Linked DNA regions of Homo sapiens: region 2 is linked to region 1. Evidence: promoter capture Hi-C in 16 types of primary human blood cells and fetal thymus (Javierre and others, 2016). All regions are on one chromosome and are shown on one strand. Each heading gives the region's core, a stretch centred on a gene start or on the middle of the fragment in contact. The rest is flanking DNA. Distances are from core to core; before and after follow the strand shown. Region 1 holds the start of PER3 (period circadian regulator 3). Region 2 has its middle 35 kb from the start of TNFRSF9.

Region 1 (3,372 bases), core at 449-2,948:
GATTCCAAGCGTCCCTACCCAGATCTGCACGCAATAAATGCTTGCTGAACGAATGCAGTTTGACAAAACCCAGCTTCGGAGGAGAGCAAGCCAACCTAGAGTATCGCTTGGAAGATATAAGGTGGTTTATTCAATACCTAACATGAACACTCACCTCACTTTTCCCCTCTTCCTTTACATACAATTTCATCCATCCAACAAATACTGAATATTTTTTCTGTACCAGGCAGCGAAGAGGGGCGGCACTCTGCACTGTACCTTTCATTTCTAACATGTTGAGATACTAAACTGAGCTTTCAGACATTTTTTTTAAAGGGCTCTACAACTTCTTTTCTGAAACAGAGTGTCTTTTACGTTTGTCTTCCTCCAGTTGCCAAATGAATCTAATTTTAGGAAGTGCAGGGAAGTGTTTTAAGTTCCACCGTCAAAATTCTGTTTCTGGGCCGGTGCAGTGGCTCACGCCAGTAATCCCAACATTTTGGGAGACCGAGGCCAGCAGATCACTGGGGCTTAGGAGTTTGAGAACAGCCTGGCTAACACAGACCATCTTTACCAAAAACACAAAAATTAGCCAGGTGTGGTGGCTGCACCTGTAGTTCCAGCTACTCGGGAGGCTGAAGCAGGAAACTGGCTTGAGCCCAGAAGACGGAGGTTGCAGTGAGCCAAAATCGCGCCACTGCACTCCATCCAGCCTGGACAACAGAGCAAAACCCTGTCTCAAAAAATAAAAAATCTGTTTCTAAAAATCGGGTGGGCTTTTTACCAGGGCTGCTTTATGGCCCGGTTCCTCCAAGTCCACCCCACTCACCGAAAGAGTTAGCGGAGGATGGGGGCGGTTGGGGTGGGCTCGGTAGGTCACGGGCGGTGAAAACCGTGGGAACCCAGAAAGACGGCCAAAGCACGATGAGGACCGCTGCCGGCAGCCCGCCCCACCCTGGGCTCCTCCCCACACCCGCTCGGGCAGCCGGGAGCCACCTACAAACTCCAGGACTCGACCCCAGAGCGCTGGCCTGAGCCGCCCCTGCTCGCCCCCAGTCCCCGCCTCTCCCTCCCTCTAATGCCCCCGCCCTCGACACCGTCGCCCCCCCGCCCCTGCCTCTCGCTCCCCACGTCTCTCGGCACCCCCGCTCCCATCCGCCCCCCCGTCCCCGCCTCTCGCCCCCATCCGTCCCCATTTCCAGCCTCCCCCTGACCCCGACTCAAGCCCCCCGACTCCGCCTCTCGCCCCTCTCTGCCCCCGCCTCTCACTCCCCTCTCCTTCCCCGCCCGCCTCTCACGTGGAGGTTGGGCCGGACCCGCCCCGCCCCACAGAGCCCGGGTCCCGCCCCCACGTGGCTGGCAGCTTCCTGGCCCTATCATTTCTGCGCTGGCTTCAGCGGCTCCGCCCCGGCGCCGTGCCAGGGGGCCGGACACTCCAGTCGCGCGGCACAGGCCTGAGGCCGCTGAGGGCCACCCCGTCCCCTGCCCGCCCGCCGGCCTGCTGGGATTGGCCGAGCGCCGGCCTCCGCCCGAGCCCGCGCGTTATGTAACGCGCCCCGGGGGCCCCGCCCCCTCGCCCTGGCTTATATAACCCGGGCGCACCGGCTCGCGCCCCGCCCCAGGGCCAATGGAGGCCTGCGGAGTCGGCCCCGACGACCAATCGCACGGCCCGGGGGCGGGACCGGTCACGCGGCGGCAGGGGGCGCGGCGCCGGCTGCTGACCGGCACGCGGCGAGCCTCGAGACTGCGCGAGGGCGGCCCCGGGGGCGAGCGGCTGTGCGCGGGGCCAAGGGCGGGGGCAGCAGGTGAGTGCGCGGCCGGGCGGGAGTTCTGGGCGGCCGGGCGGGAGTTCTGGGCACTCGCGCGCGGCAGAGGAGCCCCGCGAGCCCTGCCCTCGGTACTGGGGGCCCCCGGAGCGTGGCGCTTCCGAGCCACCCGCCTCCCCGGGCCCCATCCCTCGGCGCGCGGGAAAGTTGGGGCAGGGGTGAGGACCGCGCGGTCGGGGCGCCCCAGCCAGCCGGGCCGCTGGCGTCGGACTGTCTGTTCCATTTGTCCCTTGTCACCCTTGTCTCCTCCCCCTAGGCCGGAGTCCTGAAAGTCGAGCGAGCTCCGGGTTTTGAAAATGTTGGAGGGAAAAGCTCCTCGGAGATGAGCGTGACCCCCTGGCTCGTGGTGGCCGCCTGTTCTCACTAACGCCATGGCGGGGACCGGAGTGAGAAACCGGTGTCTGTCACTGACTGCAAAGTGAGCGAGAAGCAGGCTGCGGGCCGTCCCAGCACGACGTGGAGCCCCGCGGAGACCTCGAGATGCCCCGCGGGGAAGCTCCTGGCCCCGGGAGACGGGGGGCTAAGGACGAGGCCCTGGGCGAAGAATCGGGGGAGCGGTGGAGCCCCGAGTTCCATCTGCAGAGGAAATTGGCGGACAGCAGCCACAGGTGACGCGCTGGCTTCAGGCCGAGGGCCCCATGCGTTCGTTGTCCTTCCCTGGAGCAGGGAAAGGGGGACCTAAATCTTTTTATTCTTTTGTTTTCAAGCCCAGGGGAAAGTGTAAAGGGGAGACTCGGGCAATGTAGGATGAAGTGATCCGTGACACTGAAGAAAATTACCGAAGAGTATCAGGAGGGAAAAGTGGTTACAAAAGTTAGCTGAGTTGGGGCTCAAGTGGATTAAGGGAAAGTAAGTGGAGAATGTTTGTCATTCACCAGTTGCTTTGCCTCGAGTTCCCCACCTAGAGGAAGAGGGGTCACCACCCTGTGGACTGATGCCGGTAGAGCACTTAGAAACTTACCTGGCTTGCAGTTTGTGTTCCCTAAGCCGCAAGATGCTGTTGTCTTCAGAGGATGAAGTTGTAATTTTTTTTTATCTTCCAGTGAACAGCAAGATCGAAACAGAGTTTCTGAAGAACTTATCATGGTTGTCCAAGAAATGAAAAAATACTTCCCCTCGGAGAGACGCAATAAACCAAGCACTCTAGATGCCCTCAACTATGCTCTCCGCTGTGTCCACAGCGTTCAAGGTAAACAAGCCGGAGAGAAATTTCATCCTACGAATGCACCAGGACTCATACAAGCAGCCAGAGGAGTGGTCAGTGGGGTCTCAGTCAGACAAATAATTTGAGCTTTTTCTGGTGCTTTGTGGAAGATGAGCAAATCTACACCGATTCCATTCGTGTCTTAATTGTTCACATGTGAAAGACCAGGAAAACTTTATCTGTATAATAGTGTATAATACCTATGCAATGTTTTGCTCATGTGTTGCAAGAGAGTAGAGTTTAGCATAAGCACATTTTGAAGGCTGACCTTTTAAAGAAATATTGTCTTCTATGGAAGTTATGGGAAAAAAATGCATTCCACGAAATAGTTACCTTTACATGCCGTACACATACTTTCAAAAT
Region 2 (3,373 bases), core at 413-2,912, 120 kb after region 1:
ACAAAAAAAGTAAAGACGTGTAGTCAATTTGTTTTTACTTTGATTTTAGAATATATTCTGATTATTGCTGTTTATTACTTAAATAGTTACGTGTTATGCAATATTTATGTGTTATTAAGACATGGAAAAGGGGCTGGGAGCAGTGGCTCACGCCTATAATCCCAGCACTTTGGGAGGATGAGGCAGGCAGATCACCTGAGGTCATGAGTTCAAGACCAGCCTGGCCAACATGGTGAAACCCTGTCTCTACTAAAAATATAAAAATTAGCCGGGCGTGGTGGTGGCGCCTGTAAACCCAGCTAATTGGAAGACTGAGGCAGGAGAATCGCTTGAACCCGGGAGGCAGAGGTTAGAGTAAGCCTAGATCGTGCCACTGGACTCCAGCTTGGGTGACAGAGTGAGACTCTGTCTCAAAAAAAAAAAAAAAAAAAAAAGCCCACATAGAAAGGGGACTTAAAGGATAATTTAGTGAATACATGCATATCCACTGCCCAGCTTAGAAAATAAACATTGCCAACACAGCTAAATACCTCTGCGATGGTTAATTTCACCTGTCACCTTGGCTAGGCTATAGTACACAGTTTTTGGTCAAACATCAATCCAGATGTTGCTGTGAGGGTATCTTTTTTTTATGTGTGATTAACATTTCTTTTTTCTTTTTTTTTTTTTTGAGACAGAGTTCGCTCTTGTTGCCCAGGCTGGAGTGTAATGGCGCGATCTTGGCTCACTGTACCCTCCACCTCCCAGGTTCAAGCAATTCTCCTGCCTCAGCCTCCTGCGAGTAGCTGGGATTACAGGCATATGTCACCACGCCCGTCTAATTTTGTATTTTTAGTAGACACGGGGTTTCTCCATGTTGGTCAGGCTGGTCTTGAACTCCCGACCTCAGGTGATGCCCCTGCCTCGGCCTCCCAAAGTGCTGGGATTATAGGCGTGACGCCGTGCCAGGCCGTAATTAACATGTATTAGGTTGGTGCAAAAGTAATTGCGGTTTTTGCCATTAAAACTGTGGCAAAAACTGCAATTACTTTTGCACCGGCCTAATAAATCAGTAAACTTTGAATAAAGCAGATGGCCCTCCACAGTGCAGGTAGGCCTCTTCCAATATGTTGAAGGCCTCAAGAGAAAAAGACTGCAGTGTTCCAAGGAAGAGGGGAATTCTGCTTCTAGATGGCCTCCAGGCTTAATACTGCAACATCAGCTCTTCCCTGGATGAAATGAACATCTTTCTTCAGTATTTAAGGACAAGTTGTATTTCTTCCTTGGTGAATTGTTTCTTATTTTCTGGTGGTTTCAAGGTCAGCAGGAATGTAGGGTTTGTTGAGGTTGGGCTGACGGTTTCCTAGGGAAAGGTGGGTGATTGGTTTTACATTTAGCTCTCTTCTTGGACATTTCGTAGTGATGAAGTGGGGCAGTGTCTTGCCGGGTGAGGGGTGTCTGGGGGGCTTGTCTTGCTGGGCACACGGGGGCCTGAAGGGCTCCTTCACAGCCAGTGGGTGGGTGGGGGTCGGGAACACACGGAATTCTTTCCAGGTGAGCATCTTGTTTTGAGGAACCAACTGCTGCTGTAATATAATGTTGCCTTTCAGTCTTGAGGCTTTCACTTGGCCAGCAAGTACTTCTTTCAACACCCATAGAATTGCATGAGGTGCATGGGGTTCTTAATAGGGGCAGCTCCTGTTTTCATAAAATTTGTGAAGAAGCATTTCATGATAAGTGGAGTAAATTATACTAAATATTGAAATGGGAATCAATTTTTCTAAACATTCCTTTCCATGTTCCTGCAAAGATGCTGGTTTCACTTGCATTTGAATCAAGGCACACACCTTTCCTTCGTCCATACAGCCAGAGCCTCTGCCACAGGAACTGGTGAACGTCTTAACTGTTTATCTCACTTTATAGCACAGCAAGAAAGAAAGAAAGAAAAGAAAGAAAGGAAGAAAGAAAGAAAGAAAAAGAGAAAGAAAGAAAGAAAGAAAGAAAGAAAGAAAGAAAGAAAGAAAGAAAGAAAGAAAGAAAAGAGGGAGGGAGGGAGGGGAAACTTCTAAGATCATTCCAGATTTTTTTTCTTGACTTTACTCCCTACTACCCCCTTGAAATTCATACTTGCACACAGAAACTCTTCAAACTTCCTGTCTTGAGTACAGGCTGGACAGAAAACTATAGAGAGATATCAGCACCATGAATGCCAATATCAACACCAGTACTAACCCAACACCAACAGTGAGAACACCAATATGGATGCCGGTACCAACCCAACAGCAACACCACGAACACGGGCAGTAGGAGGAAGGTCCAGGATGCGAATTCAAAATATTGAACACCAGTTAACTTAGCCAAAGAGTCTCTAGTGAAGCTGTGATCAAGGAGAGTATGTGCCTGGTATCTATAAACATCCCATCATTGCAATCAGAGAGACACATACGATCATTATTAGCCTTTGCCACTGAAGCTAAAATAATTATTGAAAGAGTATGGGCTGCACGCAGTGGCTCACGCCTGTAATCCCAGCACTTTGGGAGACCAAGGGGGGAGGATCACCTGAGGTTGGGAGTTTGAGGTTGGGAGCCTGGGCAACATAGTAAGACCCCATCTCTACCAAAAATACAAAAAAATTAGCCAGGTGTGGTGGTGCGCGCTTGTAATCCCCGCTACTTCAGAGGCTGAGGCGAGAGAATTGCTTGAACCTGGGAGGTGGAGACTGCAATGAGCTGAGATCGTGTCACTGCACTCCAGCCTGGGTGACGAGAGACTGTCTCAAAACAAAAACAAAAAATTGTGAGTGGTTGATCTTATAAACTAGTAGATTTAAAAAGTGAAAGAGTGTGAGTGGAAGCAGTCTGACTGTCCTTAGGTGTCAAGAAATCAGGTTATGCCAGGTACAATGACTCAGGCCTGCAATCCCAGCACTTTGGGAGGCTGAGGCGGGAGGATTTCTGAACACAAGGAGTTTGAGAGCAGCAGGGCATCATAGCAAGACTTCATCTTTACAAAAAAATTTAAACATTTTTTTAAATTTAAAAAAATTTAAAAATTAGAAGTCGTAGCTACTCAGGAGGCTGAAGTAGGAACCCAGGAGTTCAAGGCTGCAGTGAGCTATGATCACACCACTGCACTCCAGCCTAAGCAACAGAGCCAGACCATGTCTCTAAAAAAAAAAAAAAAATTAGCGACCACAACAAAATGTAAATAACTAACTGACAGTGAGCTTCTGAGCATTATGTCAGAGATTTTTTGTTTTTTAGACTCCCTTAGGCCCCTATTTCAACAACTCCAAACTCAGAGTAGGAGGAAAAGAAATACACAATTATCATTCCTTCCGGAATACTAAGTTTTCGAAGCCTCAACTTCACAGGTAGTTGTTTACCTTTTA

What was found. The method cuts DNA at HindIII sites, captures the fragments that hold promoters and counts their contacts. A CHiCAGO score of 5 or more calls a contact.
Region 2: a fragment that was not itself captured here is called in contact with the fragment with the promoter of PER3 in region 1 in 1 of 17 cell types (megakaryocytes); the score reaches 5.2 in megakaryocytes.

The regions. Positions count from the first base shown.
Region 1 is chr1:7,782,593-7,785,964 of GRCh38, forward strand. PER3 (period circadian regulator 3) reads left to right here and starts at 1,699. Exons shown (of 22, transcript NM_001377275.1): 1 at 1,699-1,784; 2 at 2,062-2,413; 3 at 2,849-2,994. The coding sequence starts at 2,286. RefSeq lists a silencer at 1,165-1,774. The HindIII fragment of the contact is 8,097 bases long and covers 1-3,372 here.
Region 2 is chr1:7,904,492-7,907,864 of GRCh38, forward strand. It overlaps a transcript of UTS2 not described here. Among named protein-coding and RNA genes, the nearest start is that of TNFRSF9, 35 kb to the right of the region's middle. The HindIII fragment of the contact is 4,813 bases long and covers 1-3,373 here.